Linked DNA regions of Homo sapiens: all the other regions are linked to region 1. The links are contacts of gene promoters, found by promoter capture Hi-C in human tissues and cell types (Jung and others, 2019). All regions are on one chromosome and are shown on one strand. The core of a region is centred on a gene start or on the middle of the fragment in contact, and the rest is flanking DNA. Distances in the headings are between cores, read along the strand shown. Region 1 holds the start of RORB (RAR related orphan receptor B). Region 2 holds the start of LOC101927329 (a long non-coding RNA gene). Region 3 has its middle 200 kb from the start of RORB. Region 4 has its middle 180 kb from the start of RORB. Region 5 has its middle 160 kb from the start of RORB. Region 6 overlaps RORB (RAR related orphan receptor B). Region 7 overlaps LOC105376087 (a long non-coding RNA gene).

Evidence for each region. Contacts are between HindIII fragments. The study calls those that stand out against the background at their distance.
Region 2: a contact is called between a fragment that was not itself captured here and the fragment with the promoter of RORB in region 1, in 2 of the 25 tissues and cell types used here (lymphoblastoid cells and mesendoderm cells).
Region 3: a fragment that was not itself captured here is called in contact with the fragment with the promoter of RORB in region 1 in 4 of the 25 tissues and cell types used here (H1 embryonic stem cells, IMR-90 fibroblasts, dorsolateral prefrontal cortex and 1 more).
Region 4: a contact is called between a fragment that was not itself captured here and the fragment with the promoter of RORB in region 1, in 3 of the 25 tissues and cell types used here (H1 embryonic stem cells, dorsolateral prefrontal cortex and mesendoderm cells).
Region 5: a fragment that was not itself captured here is called in contact with the fragment with the promoter of RORB in region 1 in 2 of the 25 tissues and cell types used here (H1 embryonic stem cells and spleen).
Region 6: a fragment that was not itself captured here is called in contact with the fragment with the promoter of RORB in region 1 in 2 of the 25 tissues and cell types used here (H1 embryonic stem cells and lymphoblastoid cells).
Region 7: a contact is called between a fragment that was not itself captured here and the fragment with the promoter of RORB in region 1, in 4 of the 25 tissues and cell types used here (hippocampus, mesendoderm cells, spleen and 1 more).

The regions. Positions count from the first base shown.
Region 1 is chr9:74,495,645-74,499,306 of GRCh38, reverse strand. RORB (RAR related orphan receptor B) reads right to left here and starts at 1,972. Exons shown (of 10, transcript NM_006914.4): 1 at 1,324-1,972. The coding sequence starts at 1,330. RORB-AS1 (RORB antisense RNA 1) reads left to right here and starts at 754. Exons shown (of 5, transcript NR_125791.1): 1 at 754-1,065. RefSeq lists an enhancer at 1-70 and silencers at 1,740-2,034, 1,939-2,128, 2,124-2,336. The HindIII fragment of the contact is 7,823 bases long and covers 1-3,662 here.
Region 2 is chr9:74,271,876-74,275,537 of GRCh38, reverse strand. LOC101927329 (a long non-coding RNA gene) reads left to right here and starts at 152. Exons shown (of 5, transcript XR_242624.4): 1 at 152-425; 2 at 717-752. The HindIII fragment of the contact is 7,237 bases long and covers 1-3,662 here.
Region 3 is chr9:74,299,540-74,303,201 of GRCh38, reverse strand. No RefSeq gene overlaps it. Among named protein-coding and RNA genes, the nearest start is that of RORB, 200 kb to the left of the region's middle. RefSeq lists a silencer at 95-389. The HindIII fragment of the contact is 4,874 bases long and covers 1-3,662 here.
Region 4 is chr9:74,317,981-74,321,642 of GRCh38, reverse strand. No RefSeq gene overlaps it. Among named protein-coding and RNA genes, the nearest start is that of RORB, 180 kb to the left of the region's middle. The HindIII fragment of the contact is 9,047 bases long and covers 1-3,662 here.
Region 5 is chr9:74,335,728-74,339,389 of GRCh38, reverse strand. No RefSeq gene overlaps it. Among named protein-coding and RNA genes, the nearest start is that of RORB, 160 kb to the left of the region's middle. The HindIII fragment of the contact is 3,601 bases long and covers 157-3,662 here.
Region 6 is chr9:74,635,667-74,639,328 of GRCh38, reverse strand. All of the region lies in intron 3 of RORB (RAR related orphan receptor B), which reads right to left. Among named protein-coding and RNA genes, the nearest start is that of RORB-AS1, 140 kb to the right of the region's middle. The HindIII fragment of the contact is 3,945 bases long and covers 1-3,662 here.
Region 7 is chr9:74,361,421-74,365,082 of GRCh38, reverse strand. All of the region lies in intron 1 of LOC105376087 (a long non-coding RNA gene), which reads left to right. Among named protein-coding and RNA genes, the nearest start is that of RORB, 130 kb to the left of the region's middle. The HindIII fragment of the contact is 7,043 bases long and covers 1-3,662 here.

The sequences.
Region 1 (3,662 bases), core at 723-3,222:
GGATCACTTTCAGTGGAAGGAGGAGACCAGTGATTGCATCCCAACTCTCCCAAGTGCTCCCTGCCTAGACCACCTCTCTCCGGGTCTGGGATGCAAGAAGGTCTGGAGCTGGCCGTTACTAACTTTCTGTTGTCAAGACCCAGGGGTACGTGCGAAGGATAGAGAAGAGCCCCCGATTAACCGCTGTGTGGCCAGGAAGAGGGACTGGGAGTGGGGGTGGGTGCCCAGAGCTTGCACAGATCCCCATGTCAAGCGGACACCCGCCTGGCTCTTCAGTAAAAGAGTGAAGAAAGGCCGAGCACAGCGCGAAGGAAACCTGAGGTCTCCGGCAAGGCAGGAGAGGAGACCAAGTGACTCCCCGAAACCCACCCTCCAGCCCTTCGAGAGGCCCAGAGTCCAGCCGGAGCAAGCGTAACGCTACAGTCCCTGGCGCGCATCCCTGCAGACCCCAGCTCGCCCCGGGGTCCCGCCGCCGCCGCCGCCACCGCCTGCGACTGCGAGGGTCCTGGCCCGAGGGTGCACCAGCACCTCCTTCCACTACCGGCCCTTTATCTGACAAAAGAGCCGGAGCCCATGACTCTCCGACTGTGAGCAGTGTGGCCTTTCCAAGCCTCCAGAACTTTCTCATTACAACTTTTCCGGGGTCGCACTACTCCCTGGGCCGCGCGGGCTCGGGCACGAGGACCTGGCCAGGGCGCAGCGCCGGCACGAAGGCGCGCGCCGCAGAACTGTTTCCTCAGCCGCGTGCCGGGGAACTAACTGTTTCCTCAGCCGCGTCCAGCCTCGCAGCACTGCTCTTCTGCTTGCTACTCCAGCGAAGGGACATGCCTGCTGGCCAGGACGCTTAGTGGGCCTCGTAACCTGGCGAGTGTGTGCCCGCGCGTGTCCACCCTGCCCCCGGCCGGTGCGCCCCGCGCGCCCAAACCCGGCCGGCGACCACTGCGCGCCGGGCGCTTCCAAACTGCTCCTGTCCAGAGGCATCCCTCTTTCGGCTTTCTCCATCCCGCGTCCGCTTCCGCACCCGAGAGCGACAAGCAAAAAAGATTCAGTGCAACTCAAGGACTGGTAAGAACCAACTAGCCTGTCTCCCCTCTCCAAAAAAGCGCCCTCCCGCGTCCCTCCAGAACTCCCGAAAGACATCAACACCTTCCCGCAACTTTCTACGCCCAGGCCATTTGCAGCCCCACCTGCGAGAGCGAATTCGGGGAACTGCGCCTGGGCAACCTCTTTCCCTTTCTGCTGGGTGCCCTCCCCTCCCCCATCTCCCCGTCTGGCTGGAGTTGGCCGGACTCGGGGAGCCTCGGTGCCCGCAGACTCGCTTACCTCGCATGGTGTGGCCGCTCTCCCGCTCCGCGTAGTCATGAAGCTGCTCCCAGCCCGAACCCCGGAGAGCCCAAAAATCCCGCTCAGCACGAGTGAAGAAGGTGGTCGGCGAAGAGCTGCTCTGCCGAGAAAACCATCCCTTTAGGCGGACGCCGTGGCTGCAGGGTGACGTTTGCCGCCGCCGCCGCTATGTTAACAGTTTTGATGTTGGTGGTGACTGTTTTGATGATTGTTTGTTTGTTTGTTTGTTTTCAGGAAGGGTGAAAAAAAAATGTTCTGGCTGTCTGGTGCCTGGGTTTTGTTTTGGTTTTGTTTTTCTTTTTCTTTCTCTCCAATGTGCTTGCTTTTTAAAAAATGCCACCGCCTCCGGCTCAGAAGATTTCTTTTGTGATCACTTGGACTGAGGAGGAGGAGGAAGGGCAGCAGCAGGAGGAGGAGTTGGTGGTGGTTTTGTTAGTTACAAAGAAGAGGGAGAAGGAACAAGGGGGAAAAAAGGAAACAGAAAGAAAAGAAAGAAAGGCGGTGTGGATGGCAGAGCATGTGCGTTTTCACATGACATCTGTGCCTGTTAGCGGATCCACAATGTGAATTTTCACTGTTCAGTTACAGGGAGGAAGGGAGCAGCGAGAGAGAAAGAGAGGGGAGAGATGGAGAGAGAGCGCTGAGAGGGGCTTATACGCGAGGGCGGGCTTGGCCGCGACTTCCAGGCCCCGCCTGCTGTCAGCGCAGCCGCCAATCAGAGCCCAGCAGCGCCTGGAGAGGCTGGGACCGCGGGGAGGGGACGTGGTGGAGGCGGGGGGTGGGGCGGGGGCTGGGGACCAGGGAGTCCGAGGTGGCCGGGGCTGCGACGGGGAATTCGAGACTGTCCGAACTGGGCAGAGAAGAAGGGCCGACCGGGAGAGTCGGGCAGATCCGCAGGTGACAGGCACTTCCGACTCCAGCAGAGAAGGGGACACTGATCACGGAAAACCTTCGGAGGCAAGAGACGCGGGGCTCCCCGGGTTTCACGTTCGGTCCCTGTCTCGCAACCCCCGCGGGCCCGGCAGAGTTAGTTTTGAATTTATGGCAGCGCTTTGCCGAGCGCTATTTGGGTAAACTTCGGTCTCCGGCGGGGGTTTCCGTGGGCAGGTGGTTTGGGTGTTGGTGGTAGAATAATGCAAACCCACTTTCATCACTTTTAGCACAACTAAAATGCAGTCCCATGGAAGTAGCTGTCCCCTTCCTTTAAAAACGTCCGTCAGATGCTCCCTGACCCTCTTCTAAAAAAAAAAAAAAAAGAAAGAAAGAAAGAAAAAAACGTGTATATGTTCTTTTGTCTGGGAAATTGATTTTTATTAGCATTTGGAGACTCCCCTGGCGATGGACTACAGGACTGAAGGAGAACAGCTCAAATTGGCGGTGTAGCCACCTTACTAATTCAAGAGAAATGGCTGTTGCTAGAAGGTGTGATTGCAGGGTGCTCTTTAGAAAGGTTTTAGAAGGAAGACATTGTTAACTTTAGTTAGAGGCGATTGGTAACTGAACATAGATAAACTTACTTGTATTCCTTAGGTGAAAATTGTCATCTATGACCATTTATTTGTATTTTGATAAAAATCTAATACATATATCCAAACTGTTCCTTTGCAAGTTTTTCCAACTCAGTTGACAAAATAAGCATATAGATGATTACATCTACTTCCTTCCCAATAGTAGGGAACTTCTTAAATACTTGAGTTAATTGAACACCCTAAAAGATTGGGAGGTGAAAATATTTGCCTCATTCACTCAGTCTTGAGGCTGGGAGATGTCTACTCATTAGCATACCTGTTGGCACAGCAGGCCTCATCATCATTTAAGTATCCAAATAATTTGATTTTTGACTGGTATTTATTCATGATATGTCATGTAACACAAAGTACAATGTAGAATTGGCAGTTATTTAGTTAATTAGGTCGCTCTACACTGCCAAGTAGTTTTTTCCTTCCTGATTAAATGAAAAATGAATTATCTGCTGAATTTTCACCAGTATTAAATTGACGTAGCCCTGCTATATGCCATCCCATTTGCAAACCAATGTGTAATTTAGGAAAATTTTAGTATTAAGAGTGAAAGTTGATTGAGTCATTAATTAAATGAAATGAACAAAAGGAAGTTACTGTTTAGAATAGTTATTCCTTTATAAATATCTTTCTCCTAGATTTGTAATTGACACAGTAGTTAATCTTTTAAGATAATATTTAAGGCTCCCTGGTTTTATCATTTTTAATCAAGTAAAATATATTCATCATAACTATGTTAAAGCTGTACAAAGTTATGCCTAATTTAGTTGCTTCATTAAAAATTACTGAATATAAAAT
Region 2 (3,662 bases), core at 436-2,935, 220 kb after region 1:
GGGATTGTAAACACACCAATCAGCACCCTGTCAAAACAGACCAATCAGCTCTCTGTAAAATGGACCAACCAGGTCTCTGTAAAATGGACCAATCAGCAGGATGTGGGTGGGGCCAGATAAGGGAATAAAAGGCTGCCCAAGCCAGAAGGGGAAACCTGTTCCGGTTCCTTTCCACATTGTGGAAACTTTGTTCTTTAGGTCTTTGCAATAAATCTTGCTGCTGCTCACTCTTTGGGGCTGCACTACCGTTATAAGCTGTAACACTCCCTGCAAAGGTCTGCAGCTTCACTCCTGAGGCCAGCAAGACCATGAACCCACAGGGAGGAATAAACAACTCTGCAAGGGAGGAACGAACAACTCCAGCTGCACCGCCTTAAGAATTGTAACACTCACCGCGAGGGTCTGCAGCTGCTTTCTTGAAGTCGGTGAGACCAAGAACCCACCAATTCCAGACATAATAGCAGTGGGGTGCTGTGGGAGTAGGGGTGAACTGGAGACACTACAAACTGGAGAAGCTGGAATAAGGAAGAACATTTATTGGGTGAATGTAATTTGAAAAATTGCAGAGCAAAAGCTGATTTACCAATGTTTACCCCTAACACTGTCTACCACACCCAAACAGTACTAATCTAGACTTGATATTTGTTTTATAAAATCAGATCATAATGACAGGTCTTAAATAGTAGTAAATAATATTTGTATTCTCCTTTTTATAGGTGTATGTAGAAAAGGAAGGACAATATCTCAGGAAGGTGAGCTCCTGAGAGGGACTTTGTCCTATAATCCATCCATCCCTGGAAAATACATGAAATAAGACTTGGAGATAAAGGCTGAATGCAACAGTAAGCCGGTATAAAAGTTATGTTCTGGGAGGCAATGCTACGAGTTACAGAGGAGCACTTTATTTATTTGTGTATATTTATTTTTAATTGGTGTGATATTTAGAGTAGTCAATCATTTTGACCCCTCTTAACTACTTATTGATCAGAATATTGCTAATTCCGCATGGTGCATATACTTTTTAAAAAAGACTTATTCAATTACAGTGATGAATGTAATTTATTTGTCTTTAAATTTGCTCTGATATTAATTAATGAAAAAATGCATTACAGCCTCTTTGTAAAAGATGAGGGCAAGGTAAACAAGGCATGCTGTCTCTGAGGGCTTCAGATTTTATCTCTAATACTCAAGATGATAAACTTAGATATTACATTAGCTTTAGATATGTTAGTAATCAAGTGTGGCCAGATAGCTGTCTCCTGATTACGTATCTGAGAAGATAAATATGGTATTTATGCCAATCAAAGTCAACTTCAATTCACTTTTTGACGAGTTCCAAGCTTAACAGAGTGTTCTGCAAACAGAAGCAGCTTAAGAGATCAGCTGAAAATGAAAAAATTATTTATCCCTCAGCCATCTTAAGGCTAAAGATAAACAGTCCCTCGATATATTCCTTAAATGTGAGAAAAGCTGCAAAAACTTAGCAGGTTTACTGATATGGCATAACTTATGTAGGAATTGTCTGGTCTATGAAAAGGTGTTTTTTTAAATTGTGAAAACAATGTCACAACATTACAAAAAATTGGGCAAATACAAGGGAAGATATCAATCATAATTTCAACACTCAAACATTAAAATGCAATATTTTTGATATTCGTGGGCTCTCTTCCTTTTGTTTTTCATCCAAACGATCTTCCATTATTGCAATCACAATGTACTCATAAAAACTTTGTTCCTTCTTACTAAAGTTAGCTGAAGAAGGATTTTTATGTGTTGCGATATGGACTTACAATTATCCATTTTAAAAATTGCATAGTTTTCAATCAGGTAGATGCACTGTAATTTAACATTCTCTTAACTGTGGACATCTCATTTACTTTTAATTTTTTGCATAAAAGAGTTTCCAATGAATGTCTTATGATAATCGCGTTTTCCATTTTGGGGGGAATTTCTTTAAGATAATTCCTGGATTACATAATGACATTGTCTAAAATTTGGTGGCTTTGGTAAGACCAATTACAAGGGGGTGTTAGAGACTAAAAGCCAGTTTTCAATGGGTTGAAGGGTGAGTGGGGGTGAAGTCCTAGAACATTTTTCTCCTGACTGTAGAAAATATTTTCAACAAAATAATTGAAGCTATAGGAACAGGAAAGAATGATTAAATGAAGGAGGTCCTGAAAAGGCAGGAGGGGTCCAGAATTGTTGAATGCCCATGGAAAGTTAACAGTAGGAAAAGGAACATCTCCCCCTTTAAGTGAGGGAAATCACAATTGTAGATATGGATGCAAGTTAGCCTGTTGGTTTAGTGACAAGAAGTTGAAGGAGTTGCAGGGGTCATTTGCCTGGAGGAGAACAGAGAATATCTACAATGGTCATTATTAAGAGTGAAAGAAAATGGACTAATGATAATAATAGCTTGAAATTTCTCTTGTGTACTCCATGTGATTGCAAGTGTGCTGAGTGCTTTTTATGAATTGTCCCATAATAGTTGTGTCATTTTCCACCAATTCTTAATGGCACTAGGATAGGCAGGGTGAAGAATTTACTCAAGTATGAGTTTTTGCGAGGTTAGTGCCATGGAAGAGCAATGCTAAAAGGCAATTAAGAATCTTGGCATGAGAGATGGGTGGGATCATCCTTCTCATGTAGATGGTAGAGGGTATAGAAGAGCATGCACTGTTGAATATTTTATGCAGAAATAAGGACAAATGTGTGCCACTGCATTGGCTGAATAAACCATAAATAAAAGGACAATTCGGGGGGCCAAATCTTTTGTATTACTGGAAGAAATCTGACTCTGATATTACTGGCTTATTTCCCCACTAGCTGGGCATGTCCTCTATTTCTGCACAGAGCGCCAATGACATACAGGTAGAAAGCACAGTGGAAAAATAGAGTTTAAACATCTTGAGTGGTCCTAATAATAAGAGGAGTCATGTATTGTCATTAACATCATCCTGGAGAGGCATACAGCACAGGCTTCAGGGCCAGCCTGCTTGAGTTAGATCTAGGCTCTGCTACTTACCAGCTGTTAACTTTCAGTTAGTGTTTCTATGCCTCAGTTCTTTCACCTGTAAAAAGGGTATGATAATGGTATATGCCTCATAAGATTGTTTTGAGGATTATAAAATCAAAACCTATAAAGCACTTACAGAAGCTAAGTTTAGAGTAGCTGCCATCAGGTTTATTATTAAAATAACAGCTACCACTTGTTGAGGCTGTAAGTACTAATGATATGCTAAAGACTTTATTACTTTAGTTCATCTAATTCTCACGAAAACTTCCTGAGATAAGACTATTTTCTCCATTTTACAGATGAAGGAACTGAAGCTTAAAGAAATTAAATCACTCACTTTATGCCATTCCAACTTATAAATGACAGAGCTTGGATTCAAATCCAACACTGTTTGAACCCAACGTGTTAGGCAACTTTCTTGAGCTGGTGAAATTTCAGTGTGTGTGTGTGTGAGACTTGTGTATTCTTCTGTTTTTCCCTCTCTCTTGCTAAAGCTCTTAAAGTTTGTTCTGGAGCTATCGCAAATGTGGCTTATCCACATCCCGTCACGTTTCTTTACCATTTTCTTCCTGCCCATCAGACCCTACTATGTTTTCCCTCACTGGAGCGTCCTGCTTTGGCAGAGGGCTGCCCTTAGGCTACCAAA
Region 3 (3,662 bases), core at 429-2,928, 200 kb after region 1:
CAATGTCCCGGGTTCAAGCGATTCTCCTGCCTCAGCCTCCCGAGTAGCTGGGATTACAGGCGCCTACCACCACACCTGGCTGATTTTTGTATTTTTAGTAGAGACGACGTTTCACTATGTTGGCCAGGCTGGTCTCAAACTCCTGACCTCAGGTGATCCACCCGCCTCTGACTCCCAAAGTGCTGGGATTACAGGGGTGAGCCACCACGCCTGGCCTGAATCAAAAAGACACCTGACTGGCTGTGTTCTTGGGCAAGCAGAATCTGAAAGTGGTGGAGTTCCTGCACATTCACAGTGCATTCCTGAAACTCGTTTCACCTCCCTTTTCTTTCTCCGGTCAAGTTGTATTTGCTTTTTATCTTTCCCTATTGGGAAATTACTGTGTTCACCTGTCTCATAATTTTACAGCAAGTCTACATAAACTTAGTGATAAGTATCTTACAAGCCACAGGAGTCTTCATCTTCTTGTCCTTTTTCCTTCATTTTACAAGATTAAGCGCTAGAAAAAGCTTTTATCCCTCTGTGAAACTAGACATTTTAAAGCTAAATATTGAGGGTTATATAATTTACTGTGCTTCTTCTCTTTTTATTTGGGTGAGCAAGAATTTCAAAACCAAATTTAAAACTCAAATTTAATAATTGTTTAGATCTCTATGACTGGAGTATCTGCATTTTAACTTCAACCCTACTTGGAATCATTTGTTCTAATCTTTTTGAACCTATTTCTGAGAATTATTTTAATATGTTTATATTATATGTATATTTTAAATGGTTAATTTAAAAAACTGAATGTAAGTGGGTGTGTAAATGCAAAAAAAAAAAAAAGCTAAGAAGCCTAATTGATTTTCTTTGAGCCAATAAGTTTCAGGCTAATGTACACTCTTATAATTAGTTTTTACTCACTTTTTTTGTTGAATGCCAACTGATCATCATACAAGGCAAACAAATTTTTTAAACTGAAGTCCAATTTACATATCAAAAAATGTGCTGATCTTAAGTGTACGGTTTCATGAGTGTTGACAAATGCACATAATCATTAACTTGTACCACTATCAAGCAATGAAATATTTCCATCAGTTCTCTCATAATCCTTCCCAGTTAATCTCCAGCATCCAGAAACAATCACTGGTCTAATTCTTTTTTTTTTTTTTTTTTTTTTTTTTGAGACGGAGTCTGTCTCTGTCGCCCAGGCTGGAGTGCAGTGGCGCAATCTCGGCTCACTGCAAGCTCCGCCTCCCGGGTTCACGCCATTCTCCTGCCTCAGCCTCTGGAGTAGCTGGGACTACAGGCGCCCGCCGGGCGTAGGCCCGGCTAATTTTTTGTATTTTTAGTAGAGACGGGGTTTCACCATGTTAGCCAGGATGGTCTCGATCTCCTGACCTCGTGATGCGCCCGCCTCAGCCTCCCAAAGTGCTGGGATTACAGGCGTGAGCCACCGCGCCCAGCCTCACTGGTCTAATTCTTATCATCATAGTGTAGTTTTGCCTATTCTAGATCTTTCTGTAGATAGAATCATAGTATGAACTCTTTTATATGAGGCTTTTGTTCACTCAGCAAAATGTTTGTGAGACTTATCCATGTAATTGCTCATATTTGTAATTGCTCATGTTTTTAATTTGTTCATTTTTATTGCTGAGTAGTATTCCATTGTATGAATATGCCACAGAATTTTCAGTTCTATTTAAGGAAATCAGGCTGTTTCCAGTTTGGGGTTATTATAACAGAAACAGAAGCTGCTAAAAATATTCCTATACAAAGCTTTTTGCGGTTGTATTTTTTCATTTGTCTAGATACATATGCAAGAGTAGAAGTGTTGGTTCTTAGGGTAGATGTACTTCTAACATTTTAAGAAAGTACTAGATTTCCAAAGAGATTTTACTGTTTTACCTTCCCATTGGAAATAGGACTCTGATTGTTCCATATCTTCACCAGGATTTAATGTTGTCTTTTCTGTTTAACTTCTAATAACACTATAATGATATCTCATTAATTTGAATTTCAATGATGGCAAAGGATATTGATTACTGTTTCACGCATATATGTGCAATTCACATATCTTATTTTGTGAAGTGTCTGTTCAAGTCATTTTTCCATTTCTTTGGTGGAGAAGTTGTTTTTCATGTTATTAATGAGTTGTAGGAGTTAGTTCTTTGTATATTCTAGAGATAAATTAGATATATAGGACACAAATATTTTGACTCATACAGTATATATATTTTCTCAATGTTTTGTTTCTTTCGATGAGCAGAAGTTTTAAATTTTGATGAATTCAAATTTATCATTTCTTTCATCATTAGTGTTTTCTGTTTCTTCTCTGTGAAATCTTTGCCTACTCCCAAATTATAAAAAATTCTCTATATTTTATTTTCTGAAAGCTGTATAGATTTAGTTTTACATTTAGCTCCAAGATATATATAAAATTAATTTTTGTGGATGGTGTGAGGTCAGTGTGAATATATGGATATTTTTCAAAACTGTTTGTTAAAATACTTTTATTTCCCTATTGAATTGTTGGGGCTCTGTTAGTGTATATCATTTTACCATATATGTATGGGTTTATTTCCGGAGTCTCTATTGTGTTCTATTGATATACTTCTGTTATTTTGCCAGTGTCATACTCCTTTTATTTCTATAACTTTAAAGTAAGTCTTGAAGGCAGGTATTCTTCCTATATCATCCATCTTTTCTAAGATAAATTTGGTTATTTTAGGTTCTTTGCATTTCCAGAAAAATTTAAAAATAGGATTGTCCATATCTACAGGAAGTTTTTTGCTGGAATTTTGCTCAGAAGTGCATTGAATCTATAGGTGAATTTGGTGACAATTGACATTCTGGCATATTGAGTTTTCCAAATCCTTAAATATGGTGTATCTCTACATTTCTAAGCCCTTTAAAATTTCTCTAAGCAATATCTTATAGTTTTCATTCAGAGATACTATATGTCTTTTGTTAAACTTATCCTGAGTGTTCCATATTTTGGTGAGCAACTGTAAATGTTATTATACAGTAATTTTAATTTTGGTATAATTACATTTCTAAGCCTTTTAAGATTTCTGTCAGCAATATTTCAGAGTTTTCATTCAGAGATACTACATATCTTTTGTTAAACTTATACTGAGTATTTTATATTTTGGTGAGCAATTGTAAATATTATTATACAGTAATTTTAATTTCATTATCCAATTCTTTATTGTTAGTATAAAGAAATGTAATCGATTTTTTTCATTAACTTTATATCTTATGACTTTGTTAAATTTACTTAATAGTTGTGGCAATTTTTTACAAATTCTTCATATCATCCTACATAATCATGCTATCTTTAAATAAAGACAGTTTTCTTTCATTCTTTCCAATTTTAAACCATGAATTTAATTTACTACCATATTGCACTCACTTAGGGCTTCCAGTACAACACTAAATAAAAGTTGTGAGAGAAAGCATTCCCGTCTTATTCCAGATAATAGAGAGAAAGCTTTCAAAATTTAATCATTAAATATGACAGGGAGTGTAGGTTCTGTATAGATGACTTTTATCAGGCTGAAGATTTTCTTCTATTCCTAGTTTGCTGTGAAGTTTTTTTTTTTTAATTCTAAATGGAAATTGGATTTTGTCAAATGCTTTTTCAGCATCTATATTATATAATATTTTCCCTTTTAATCTGT
Region 4 (3,662 bases), core at 603-3,102, 180 kb after region 1:
GCATCTAGCCTAAGGTCTGGGGCATGGTTTCTCACCGAAATTTACCGTATGTGCTGTGCTTAACCTTTGGTGTGTCATAGACTTGTGTGGCAGCTTGGTGAAGTGCAGGGATCCCCTAACACAACTGTGATTTATTGCTTGTCACAGGGATAATTGAAGAAAATCATACATGTTAGAGGTTAGTAAAAATAAAAATGAAAATTCTTCCCCATCTAAGAATTTGGCCCCTCCACATTCTGTCTCAGATTAAGAACCTCTGCAAGTGTTTTATTTTTGTGAGTTGTTGGAGTGCGGTGAAGATTTGGTGTTGGTTAAGTTTCATGTAACAAGACAATGCAGAGGATTTTTTCAACTATTAAATCAACCCACAATTTTATAACCAGAAATGCATATTGAAGCAGAGCTCTGATGCTTTCTCTGCCTTTGAAATCTTGATTCCCATTCTATGCTGACTTGTTCTGCATCCACCTGAAGTGCATTTCTTTACCCTTTCTACAGTGAATGTATGACTATTGTCCTACTCTATAGAGTTCTCTTTGCTTAAAACAAACAAACAAAAAACACCAAACAAACAAAAGAATCTCCTCTTGATCTTCTGACTTCCCTTCATGTGGACATTCAGTGGCCTCAGGGCTTCTATCATGGCTCTATCTCCCATGAATGGCCCATCTCCAACCCCCATAAAGGAATCTGAACAAATGAGACGGACCGGTTTCTCACATTAATTAGGCTAAGTAGAAGTTTCATGAGAATTTAACATAGTACTTTGCCTTTTGCTCTGACTTCTTTTTGGCAGACAAATAGAGTTACAATACCGTGTGTGAGTCTGTTTCTTTGCTGCTGATAAAGACATACCTGAGACTAGGTAATTTATAAAGAAAAATAGGTTTAATGGACTCACAGTTCCACGTGGCTGGGGAGGCCTCACAGTCATGGTGGAAGGTGAAAAGCATGTCTTACATGGCAGCAGACGACAGAACGAGAGCCAAGCGAAAGGGGTTTCCCCTTATAAAACTATCAGATCTTGTGGGATGTATTTTCCACCACGAGAACAGTATGGGGGAAACCACCTCCATGATTCAATTGTCTCCATCTGGTCCCTCCCAGGACATGTGGGGATTATGGGAACTACAATTCAAGATGAGATTTGGGTGGGGACACAGCTAAACCATATCACCATGCTTTTGTATTTCAGGAATGCGGTAGAAACCTGTTAATGCAGTTCAGGCCACCAGCCTCATTCACATTTTTGTGATGATTCCCTCTAACTAGGATATAGCAACAAACCAAAGTCTAGCACCCTGAAGTGATCTGGCTCCGTGTCGTATTTAGTTGCCAGATAATATACGAGTCAGTTTGTTAACTTACAAGAGAGCAGACTTCTCACCTTCCTTGATGAATCAAAATTTGCTTCCTTAAACATATTGTGCATGTTTCTCTAAGTCTTACAAAATCTTATTGAGGAGAAAGCACAAGCTAGTTGATTACATTGAGTTTATAGCTAACATGGCTTAGGTGATAGAACCTGTGATCGAGAACAGTTTGCCGTACACTTTGCAATCGGGTGACTTCTTCTGTGTTACTTAGATGTACAGTGAATGAATCCATAGTATAAATGTCATATTATACTCCAGCTTATCTGTCAATCTTTTCAAAAAAATTTAATTTGAAATTTCTGTGGGTACATAGTAGGTACATACATTTATGGGATACATGAGATGTTTTGATACAAGCATGCAATGTGAAATAATCACATCATAGAGAATGGGGTACCTATCCTCTCAAGTATTTATCCTTTGTGTTACAAACAATCCAGTTACACTTTTCAGTTATTTTAAAATGTACAATTTAGTTATTATTGACTATAGTCCCCTCTTGTGCTATCAAACAGCAGATCTTATTCATTCTTTCTGACTATCTTTTTGTATCCATTAACCATCCCCATCTTCTCTCTCCCAAGACCCCCACTACCCGGAAGTAACCAGATTCCGGGAAGGTAGTAGAAGGTAACCATCCTTCTACTCTCTATGTCCATGAGTTCAATTGTTTTGATTTTTAGATCCCACAAATAAGTGAGAACATGTAATGTTTGTCTTTCTGTGCCTGGATTATTTAACTTAACATAATGACCTCCAGTTCCATCCATGTTACAAATGATAGGATCTCATTCTTTTTTATGGCTGAATAGTACTCCATTGTGTATATGTACCACATTTTCTTTATCCATTCATCTGATGATGGACATTGAGGTTGCTTCCAAATCTTAGCTATCGTGAGCAGTGCTGCAACAAACATGGGAATGTAGATATCTATTTGATATGCCGATTTTCTTTCTTTTAGGTATATGCTCAGCAGTGGGATTGCTGGATCATATGGTAGCTCCATTTTTAAGTTTTTGAGGAAGCTGAAAACTGTTTTTCATAGCAGTTGTACTAATTTACATTCCCACCAACAGTGTACAGGTGTTTTCTTTTCTCCACATCCTCACCAGCATTTGTCATTGCCTATCTTTTGGATATCTGTTGATATTGCCTAAAAATGATAGATGAAAGCCTATGGAGGAAGGGGGCACAATGAACCTAGGAACTGTGCCATGGAAACTTTGGTTGAGGGAATTGGGGTATTTATCTTGGAAGAAAGAAGACCATGAAAGTAACACTTAAGAATCAGAATTAACAGTCTTAAATAAGTGAGTTTCAATGTATTTTCTATTGTTCTAGAGAGCAGAACCACTAAAAAAAAAGAAAGGCATATTTTAGCTTAATCATTTCACAATGTAAACACATGTAGCCCACACATTGTACTCCGTAAATAATACAATGATTATTTATCAATTAAGAATAAAATTTTTCGGGAGGCTGAGGCAGGAGAATGGCATGAACTTGGGAGGCAGATCTTGCAGTGAGCTGAGATCGTGCCACTGCACTCCAGCCTGGGCGACAGAGCAAGACTCCATCTCAAAAAAAAAAAAAAAAAAAAAAAAAAAAAGAATACAATTTTTTAAAATTGCAAAAAATTAAATGATGTAAATCCACAAGTAAACAAATTATATTAAAAATGAAGGTAAAAATGTTAAAAAAAGAAAGAGATTTCTATTAATTAGATTTTTAAGAAATAAACAAGCAAAAACAGAAGGCAATGACTTCTTGATTCTTTGAAGTCTTTGTAGGGGGAATGGGAGGGGTGGAAGAGATAGTGAAGGTGAGCTTCTGTCTAAATGATGGTGAAATGAGGGTGTGTGTGGGGCAAGTGGACAGTTTCCAAGGGCTCTTTCGACTCCATGATTTATGCTTCTGTGATTTAAGAGGGGATGCCAGAAGGAAGCTTTCACTCTGCAGAAAATGGTTTAATGATCTACATTAACATTTTAGTGCATTATTCATATTTCTGGCATGTGTCTATTTTCTTAAGAACACCTTTCTGGGGGCCATAGCTGTGACTGCCATTAACATAGAATGGTATTTTATTTCTGCAACTCTAGGAACAGAAGGACATATTAAACATTTTTACCATTTTGATCCGTGATAAAAGCATCTCCTCCAACTCCTAGCTCATGGGATCATAAGTTCATATATTTTTTCTTTTTTTTTTTTATGCCACAAGACAATCTAGATGTTTTGTAGAAACTGCGAATGTTAGTCCCATTAAAATGTACACATTTA
Region 5 (3,662 bases), core at 708-3,207, 160 kb after region 1:
TATCGTATATCAGGAATAATTTGCAAACCCCTTTTCTAGTTTTAGCATTGTTTTGGGCCATCATTTTTTTTTTTTTTCGGTTGATGGTTAATCTCAAAAGATCTCTAAGACTTAACCCATTTCTTACTTTTGTGGCTGTTTAAAAACTGTTTGTCCTTGCTGGGATTGTTACAGGTAGTTAAGCATGAGTGGGGCAGGGGAGGGGTCTTCCCCCTACTCACTAGAAATGGTCAATGATGGTTTGGCAATGATCACATTGCCTCTCTAAAAGTGACAAATTGGCAGCTGTTGCCAGGGAGAGGCCATTTCCTGATGGTCCACATCAAAATGTTAATTGAATCTAGGCCCCAGGGAGAAGCAACTTCCTGTGTATGCATGTTAAGAGACAAAAATGGTGAAGTATGATCTTCCAGAAAAGAAAAGAGCCTCAGATGGGCATGTGTATAACTCCATAAACACACTGCCTGTGGTCAGTTCTCCAGGGTAAGGAGGGCACCGTGCTTGCAGAAATCCCACCCTAAGGGAAGAGTCATGGGAAAGAAGTGAGCCTATAAAGTCCAAGGTAAAAAGCTTTCTTTTTCTCTCTTTGACATTCAGGTAGCCACTTGGGTCTCTTCCAAGAGATCTTTCCTTTCTTTCTTGTTCTAAGGCCTTTTTAATAAACTTCCATTCCTGCTCTGGAACTTGCCTGGGTCTCTTTTTCCGCTCTATGCTCCTCAGTCGAATTCTTTCTTCTGAGTAGGCAAGAGCTGAAGTTGCTGCAGTCATGTACAGATTCGCTGCCTGTAACTCAGGGTAACTCAGATCTCTTCCACCGCTAACAGGTTCAGGTCTGAGGACTTCATTTCTGTGATTGCCATCTTCAGTTACCGTTGCTTAAGCTGAACCTACAACCTTAATTTTTTGTTGGCAACTGACATGGCCTTCTAACTCCTATGCAAAGTTTTTGTGTCATTTGTTGTTACATCTTTTCTTGTTTGGACAAAATTTATCTAGCTGAGATTATGACTACTTAAAAAAGCATTTTGTACTGTTGTCAATTTTGGAGCCATAAGGCTCAATAGAGAAGAACAATCACTTTCATGCCTGGAGACATCCCTTGAGGCATTTTACTTCTCAAGGACCAACCCTTAGGGAATATTGGGCCAAGTGAAGTATTCCCAAGAGAAAGAGGGCTCAAAGCAGCCAACTGTAATCTTCATGTATTTGTCAGCTTAGCTTTCTCAATGAAGACTGCTTTTTGAAATCTTACTCTTTCCTTTCTGGTTGCATCTTCTTTCCATCCCCTCTGATTTTTATGGGGCGCCTTCAGTCTGTGCAGCACTTCCTGCCCTTGCCATATTAAGAGACTTTTAAAGTCCCTCTGTTTCTGATTTGAATTACACACAAGTGTTTTGTAGTAACTGGTGCTTATTTTGGCCCTTTGTATAAGTAATTGAACATCCATTAACAGAAGATAATTGGTTGACAGTTTCATTATTCTTGGAATAAATGGAAAGTCTGTGGACTGAGATTGAAGAGGCAAAAAATAGTCTTGGAGATGCAGAGGGTAGATTTATAGAATATATTTCTATATTTAAGTGTTAATGCCACACTTAAATAGATGAAGCACATATTTTTTTCATGTTTTGATCCATATTTTTTACCTTAACTAAAGTGCTTCAAATGACATAAAAATATATGAATGGATGGAGCACCAGAAACCAAAGGTAAAAAATTCATTTTTAAAGTAGAAGTTCTTATCAAGTGAGTGAGATAACACATCTGAGGTAACTGGATAAAAATAAAAGTTATTGGTCAATGAATTGTTTCATCAGCATAACATCAAACTATAGTGTGATAGATTCCCCCCCACTCTTCAGCCAAGTTGATTGCTTAAATTGTAATGTGCTGCTAAAATGATTTTGTTAATTCCATGTGAATCTTCCACATATATAGGGGGTTATGAGTATATCTCCTGATTTTCTTTTGTGGGTGAACTCACCAGGTAGCATTGGTGAAAAACTAGAAAACCTCAGGTATGATTCACCAGCTGAAATTTTAATTGATGATATTGCCAGTATTTGTAGTAAGTTTTGCAAAATGGCAGGTTTAGGGTAACTGAAAGAGTTTATTGATGATTACAACTTAGCCCAGCTAAATTTGATAATGATATTTCACACCTATCCCAAGTAAAGAGGTGAACACTTACATAATGAAGATCACACTGTTAGTCAGTGTAGCCCTAGCCGCAACCCAATGTCTACATCAATAGAAGTATTATATATGACCCATCAGAGTTAGTAGAAGACATGCAATTCATGCAACTGATAATTCCTTCTTAACCACTCAATAAATTATTGTTCTATTAGATGTGAAAGATTTAGAACTTGGGCTCAAACTTGGACACTTGACTATCTCAAGAACCAGTCTGCCATGCTTACATTCTAATTTCCCTTTCCCTTGAACTTCAGTGATTCAAATGGAAGGCATTGTTTTGTTTGAAACAGCCGTTGATGGGTTTTTAGAGGAAAAGTGTCTAATTACTGGCAGCAAAATCCCTCTAGCTCTCCTCTATTTTTTTTTTTTTTTTGAGATGGAGTCTTGCTCTGTTGCCCAGGCTGGAGCACAGTGCCACAATCTTGGCTCACTGCAGTCTCCACCTCCCGGATTCAAACAATTCTCCTGCTTCAGCCTCCCAGGTAGCTAGGATTATGGGTGTGCACCACCACACCCGGCTACTTTTTGTACTTTTAGTAGAGAATGGGTTTTGCAATGATGGCCAGACTGGTCTCAAACTCCTGACCTCAGGTAACCTGCTCACCTCGGCCTCCTGAAGTGCTGGGATTACAGGCATGAGCCACAGTGCCTGGTGCTCTATTTTTGAAAGATAAATGAGGAGACTGTAGATGTTTAACGAAGTTCAATTATGTTTCCTTTTAGTTCTTGCTATTGAAGTTGATTTATATGTAACCACAGTGAATTGTTTATATCCACAATCAGTTTTCTTCTTGTAAGTGTGAGAGATCACAGTGGCATTTATACCTGCTAACCATAAGCTTTCATTAAGATGATTGATTGCTTGCATTGATTTGTTTGATATGTGGGCATTCCTGTGGTATGAATTTTCACTTTAAAATGTACACAGTTCATCATTTGGGCTCTTCTCTTGCATTGCTGTTAATGGGATTTTAAACATGCATTCTTCCAAGAGCCTTCCCTTGATTAGGTAAACATTTATTATCATTGAAGGAGTAAGATAGGAATCATTGAATGTTTTTCCGGATTTTGGGGGGGTACTTAATGAACATTATTATTCTTAACATTTAGATGTTTCTTCTACTTGATATCAGTGATTGCCAGTTTCTTCAGACCCCTATAACGAGAATTGGAAGCAGATTTATAATCAAAGGGATGTTCAACTTGTAACACTAAAAGGAGTAGAAACAACTCACACTAGTTCTTTTAATTGCTGGATGACATTTTAAAACTCCTTTTGAACTGTGATTCTGTGGAGTCACTGTACTAAGTGAATTGCTGCTTATTAGAAAATCTGACTCAGGAAAAAAATACATGCATACACACATATGAATATATACAATTTATATATATATAATATATACATATATAATATATGTATATATATAATATGGGTGATTTGGTACACAGGGAGAGAGGAATAT
Region 6 (3,662 bases), core at 490-2,989, 140 kb before region 1:
GTGACTTACTGTGGACCAATGGAATATTGACAAATGTGACACAGCAGAGACTTGAAAAAGGCTCGTGTGATTGTGCACCTCACCATGACAAGGACATGCCTGAGCTATCTTGCTAGAGGATAAGCTTGCTGGGGGATATGTGAAGCAGAGCCAGACCTCCTTGGTCATCCCAGGCAAGGCCATCTACAATCAGCAGAGCTATAGAACTGACCTGCAGCTGATGGACACAGAAATCTGCTGTTAACCACAGACATCATAATCACAAGCTAACAATGTCAAAAGAGTATGCTGCCAAGACCTCTGCCATGGGTAACATCTAAAAACTCAACAAAGAAAAGCTCTGCATTTTTTACAAAATTGACTTATCAGGTCACTGAGCAACTGAAATATTTCCAAAGAAACAACTTAAAACTACTACATTTTAGAGTTATTTCAGGTATGATCCTAAATCAAAGACTTCACTGACAATGACTGTAATACTATTCTATAATTAATTTTCCATTTATTTCAGAAACATTGATGAGCCAGTGTTTCAGTTTTGTGCCTCTTCTTGCAATAACAGTGGTGACAAATTTGGGAAAAAAATTACAGTACATGGCAAAAATAAACCTACTGACTTTCTTGACATAATTCATTTTCACTGTTTGTAAATACATTTGTTGTATGCATAGAACTATTTTAACAAAGGCCATGTTAATATTTCAGATATTAGCATTCTTCTTATCACTACATATTAATCAGACTGGCATATATTTTAACTGTCTGCCCCTCTCAAACTTGAGTTATTCTGTTAATGACATTCACTTGAGTATAAAGACAGCCTTTTGTTAAACTGCTACCTCTTAAAGAAACCAGCACAATTCTGTATACATTGCAAGTGCTTATAAATATTCAATGATGTGGTATTTGCTCATGATATGCTCTTAACCCTCATTTTGATCCCATAATACTAAAGAACAATTTAATGTGAAAGTATCGGAAATCATTTTATATTTATTTGAATTGTGGTATTCTAAATGGAATAGAAGTTTTGGATATAACTAAAAAGTAAAGTCATAGCTCCTTCAAAGATTTCTATTAACATAGCACATGGACATGTGTTTTTGGTTTCAAGAGAGCCCAACTGACTATCAATCTATGACTTTCTATAAATTTCCAAAATCATTTTATCTACTACCTTCGGTTGTAAAGTTCTCTATATTTACATTTTGCTGCTTACCAATGAAACTGGTCTCAATTTAACTCTTTTCAGCTTCAGAGATGTGCCTCTTCTGCCACCCTTTTTTTAGTGCTGTAGGCTTTGTATTAGAAGTCTGATTCAATCTACCCAAGCCTATTCATTATTTTAAAATCTCTCTCTTCTCCTTCCTCTTTTTCTCCGACAGAACTCCTTGTGATGTTGAAATGTTCTCTTTGCTTTCCAATATGGTAGCTGCAAGCTGCATGTGCCTAATGAACACTAGAAATATAGCTAGTGTGACTGAAGAACTGAATTTGAAATTTTATTTAATTTAAATTCATTTAAATTTAAATTATTTAAATAGTGACATGTGGATTGGGCAATGTAGTTCTGGATAGAAGCTTAATCTGTGAAACCTGTCCTTTTAGGGCAACTTCTGTCTTTTTGTAGAGACATGCCACTTGGGAGGACATATACTAGTGAGTATCAATTTATAGTAGCACAATTGGAAACAGTTATCCTGAAGATTCCTTTGTAAAGGGTGTAGGTAAAAGAAAAAAATAAAATGATGGAGAAGATTCAGTAGGCTTATGCATGCTGCCAATTCACACACACACACAGACACACACATGCACACATGTCTTCACCTTTTTATACACATAAAGACACACGTATGTGTTTCCAAGTGGATTTGATTTTTGATTCTTCGTTTAAGCTAAATTTGAACAAATTCATTATTGATAAATTTGATGGCTTCTGATATATTCGATAGCTAATAAACCGATATAGCAGTGAAATTTCAGGAGAGAATGAAAATCCAGTGTTTTCAACAGTTATTTTAAGCTATTTCCTAGTGGCCACATTAAGCAGCCAGGTATGATGAAATAAACATTCTTGGAGCCTAATTGACAGAGAGCAAATGCATATACCAAAATGAAGATGCCACTTTATCTCTGAGGGAAGTAGGGGGCTGTAGAAAGCAGTTAGGTATGAGGGCACCTCACTTTGGCTATTGGTACAATTTCTAGAGCACTTTAAGAATACTTGCTGAATCAGAAGAAGGTAGGGATTCTTCTGACTCAGAAATAACCGTGTCTTTCATTCTTGAGCCTTTACTAGACATAGGTAATCAACCATAATTTCAGGGCTTTTGAATCATTCAATACTACATACTAGGCAATACTTATCAATAGGAGGTAAAACCTATTCAGCTTCCCTGGTATTAGCATAATTTACTTGGCATAAGGCACCCTTTCTAATCAAGGTTCAGACCAAACTTTCTCTGTATGATATAGTGAAGAGGCAGCTTTTTCTCTTAGAGAGAATCATTTGTTTTCTCTTCTGCTACAGCCCCTTCTTCTCCAGATTCCCCACCCCACCCACACCCCCGTGACCATTTCTCCTCATGATAAATTTCACATAAGATGTGCTTAGGAGGCATTTTTGAAGATGTCCCCGGCAGCCTCAGGATTGTCTCTGGACCTAAAGTTGAAATGAATCATTATTCTTAATCCTCAGTGTCCTTAGACACTATATTGCTCTTATTTGCATAGAGGTTTATGTGCTGCAATGAATTCCTTCCTTCTTGAGAATAAATTGTGGCTCTGTTAAATGACCCTCCCATCCTCCCGACACATTTCTTTTATGTTACGGGATTCAGACCGTCTAAATTTTGTGGGCTGATGTCACTAAATCTGTTGAATCTGCCTTGGATCATATATTCATCTCTTGCCCATGATTCTGTTCACCAGCACAGACTTAGACCTGCTCTTCCAGAAAGATACTTCCTTTTATTGTAGGAAGAAGTAACAAAATCAAATACCCTATGGCTTATCTCTTTGCACAATTATTAATGGAGCTTTTCGGACACTGCGAATTAAAGTGCTACCTACTGCCACATGGTAGAAATGAAGTGCAAAGTCATCAACTCAGATTCCCATATAATTACACGAAATAAGTATCAAAAACTACTTAATCCTCTCTCTTAATTTATTTGCCTTGATTATACAGAAGTACCCATTGCTATAAATTTATCTTAGGAGTAAATATATCTGGTTAGTGAGCCAAGTAAAACAAGTAAAACAAAAAAAAATCAGTTAATAGAAAAATTTTGGAAACCTCGTCTCTGTAGCTTTGGAAGCTACCTATAAACTGAAGGGTTTCAGGTCAGATTCTGTTTTTTTTTTTTTTTTGGTCAAATTTGTTTTATAGGTGTACTTTTCTGCAGGACAAGTTTAGATGGATTGGGAATTAGAGAAAAGGTAAAGAATCTAATCACTCACAAAATCCCTTTATACTAAATGTATGCCAATTATTCACATTTCTTTAAAATTTGGAAGTTTCTTGTTTTGTGTGTGTCTATACAGCCTTGAATTTCACTAGAGGGAGTGCGACCAGAGGCCCAGAATCCACACTGACTGACATAAAGACAGAAAGTGTCAGGGCATTGTCTATGTCTTAGGCTCTAGGTAGAAGGGATTTC
Region 7 (3,662 bases), core at 610-3,109, 130 kb after region 1:
TATAAGTCGGAACTGAACCGTCTGAACACATAGACACAGGGAGAAGAACAACACACACTGGGGCCTGTCGGAGGTGGGAGGGGGGAGGGAGAGCATCAGGAAAAATAGCCAATGCATGCTGGTCTCATTCCTAGGCAATGGGTTGATAGGTGAAGCAAATCATCGTGACACATGTTTACCTATGTAACAAACCTGCACATCCTGCACATATACCCTGGAACTTAAAATAAATAAAATAAAATAAAATAAACAATGAAGGTGAAATAGACATTTTAAATATTACATTTGTTGAAGTAGATTGAAGTAGATTTATCACCTGCAGTCCTACACTGAAAATAATACTATAGGGTATTTTTAGGTAGGAGAAAAATTATTTCAGAAGGAAATAAAGTGATGGTAGAAATGCAGGGCAAGACAAATTGTACATCCATGGGTTAATCTAAATAAACATAGCCTATATAAATAATATTAATGTTATATTTATTGTATCATATATATATAAGTAAAATGTAAATACACATAAACAAATACATTTCATTCTGCAAAGGAATTAAAGAACGCAGAAATGCTTGTGCTGCCCACATAGAGGGTCACATAACTACCTGTTAGACTTGATTGAGTCTAGAATACAACAAAATGTAAATAGATGAGATGCTCCAATTGTAGAACTGGTTTTTTTTTTAAATTCAACTCTATGCAGTTTAAAGAAGACATATCTAATACAGAAGGAGTCAGATAGCTTGAAAGGACAACACTGGGCAAAATGATTCCTAATAATTCCACAGACAAGCCAGGGTGGTGAGTAGTATATTTATAGCATTGTCTTAAGACTACAATTCACATGAGAGACAGTAAGGGAAGAGCCCTTTGTTAGTAACATTGTCTTTAGTGGACATGGTTTATAGGAAGAAGGAAGACTGAGAACGTTAATATATTAAGAAACCTTGTTCCTGGTACATTTATGATTGAGACAAAAAAGAAAGAAGATCTTTTAGTCCCTTTCAAGTGACTTGGTTGATAGAATTATAAAATACTCTACAGGACCAGTGAGGATCTGGGTATCAGTGACATTGGTGTCTTTCATAGTTTGTGTACTAGAGGAAACACAAATTTATACTCACATAAGGAAATCACTATGTTCCTCTGAAAATAAGTAAAGGGAAATGTTTACTATTATATTCAGCATGGCTGTTGTAATTATAACCCATTTGGTCAAAATTCACTTAATTGAGTGCAAATAATAAATGAAATAGCTCAAGAGGGTGATTCATTTATATCTAATTAAATAGACACACAAAAGTTGTCATGCACAATGATTAACAGACTTCACCCTTTGTTGATGTAAAGAATGATTTTTAAAAACTTTATTATCCACCTACTTCTCCACCCACAGGCTTGAGCTATTTCACTAATATAAAATTGTTAAATCTATTTTGTGTAATACTTTTATGAACTGTTTTTAACCACAAGGGATACAATAGAGTGCTATATTCTGTTACTTTTTACACATTTCTTTTTAAAAAAATTTTTCTCCCTTTGGTCAAAATTTTAATTTACCCAGTATTGCACGCTTTTCTTTTATGGCAAAGTTCATATCCATGAAACATTTTATTTAGTTCCTGGAGTGGGTAGCATTTGTTGATACAGTACATTTAGTTAATGAGACAATGATACAGTTAATTATCTGTAAGAAAACTCAGGACCAATATAAGCATGACCCTCCATTTATAAGTAAACCACTGCATAAATATTTATATTAGTCTCTGCAGTGTGACTAACGTTGGAAATTCATTGTACTTCTGAAGAAAAACCACTTGGAGACCTTCGAGTAGGATTTACTTTCCTGATCAATTGTTGATGAGATTTTAATCCTTGATAGTAGGAAGTAGTAAGTACAGGAGGGAAGCAGAGGAGATGGGGAGCAATTTGCTCTCATAGAGAGGCTGGCAATCATGGGCTGGGATGGGGAGAAGGCAAGCCGAAAAAAGAAACACTCAATATAAAATTAGAAAATTATAGATGAGAGTGGGGAAATCCTTGTTTAAATAGAAGATACTTTGTGTTTGGTTAAATTTATTTAGAAGGATAATGTAAATTTAAGCCATGCTCAATGCATTTGGGGGAAAATATATGAGATAGATATTTTTTCAATGGGTAGGAACAAAGTAGCAAACTGAAAAACTTGTCTTGCTTCAGGGGTAGTACCATAATCTGTAACAAGCTTGTTGTTGTGGCAGTGTTTACACATTACTTAGGGGCCTCGAGGTCCTAGAAATTACCTGAAGGAGCATGGTGGCCTCCAGGCAGAGTTGCTGAGCTTCCTATGTTGTGTCAATCAAAAATCTATGAAAATATGGCCTCTCAAAGTCCCATGTGATAGGGCAGAAGCCTTGGAAGAGCAGTTTTATCTTCCACAACGATCAAATTTTACAGGGCAAAGTGGAAAGGAAACCAAGTTATGGACACGCTGATTTGACATCTGTGCTGGACAGCACCCCCAGCTCACTCTAGGCTAATGCTATTAATCTGGGGATTGTTGGAGAAAAGACCAGCTCCTCAAATCACTTTGGACTTTGAAGTGGAGAACTTGTTTATGAAGGAAAAGAGCCTAATTATTTAGGCAAATTCAACCAGGAACTCAGTAGTGATTTTGGGAAAGAAGCTTATCTCTTTATTCAAATGCCATTTGACCCATCCAGGGTGTCATTGTCTTATACTTAATGACTATATTAAGAATTTGAATAAAACGGTTATTGCCACATTATGTGGGTGTAAAATTACGAATGAAGGAAATTGAAAACACATTTTTAAGGTCAAGCCTTGATAAATTTTCTCTTTGCCTTTAATCTACGGACTCATGACCTAAAATTCCATTTTGCTCATGAGGTGTTTCATGTTACAGATCGTTCCTGCCTTCTGGAGCTTTTACTCCTACAAATATTACTAGCTTGTATATGATAGATACTTTTGTTTATAATTTTGGTTACTTCCGCAAATATAAATAGGTGACTCAGTCTCTTCAAAAGAAACATTTGGGAGTCCTGTGGAACACAAGCCACCGTTATGTCATCTCTTACTTCAGCATCCTTTGTGGAGGAACAATTAGGAAGAGAAGTAAATCTTGTGTGATTGTTTGCCCAACAGAGAAACGTAACTGGAGTAGTATAAGATATTTGACTGTATCCATGGAAACCTTCTAGACTACCATTCTTAGATTTTGCTTAGGCTAAAGCAGGTGACAAGGTTCACAAGTTTTAAAAATGTTTTTGAGGGGGGATGGGGAGCTATTACTCAGTGATGACAGAAATCTGATAGTTAAGGAAGGTTCTAGCCCTTAACAACCAGGAAGCAACATATAAATCCCAGGTGTGTGTCAAATGTGACTCAGGTAATGATACAGGCAAGTCACTCTCTTACTTCACTAGAGAAATGGCATAGTTTCAAGACCTGCCCATGCTACACTAATCAGTATCATCATCACCACCATTTTACAGTCAAAAAGTGCTATTAACTCTACAAAGCAGTTTCGTACTAATGATATCTTTGATTCTCACAGATAAGCAGACAGATAGTACTACTGTTCATTTTATAGATGAGGAAATCAAGGCACCTAGCCATTAAATAATTTGCTTAAAGTCATATAGCTAATTAGTATCAGATCA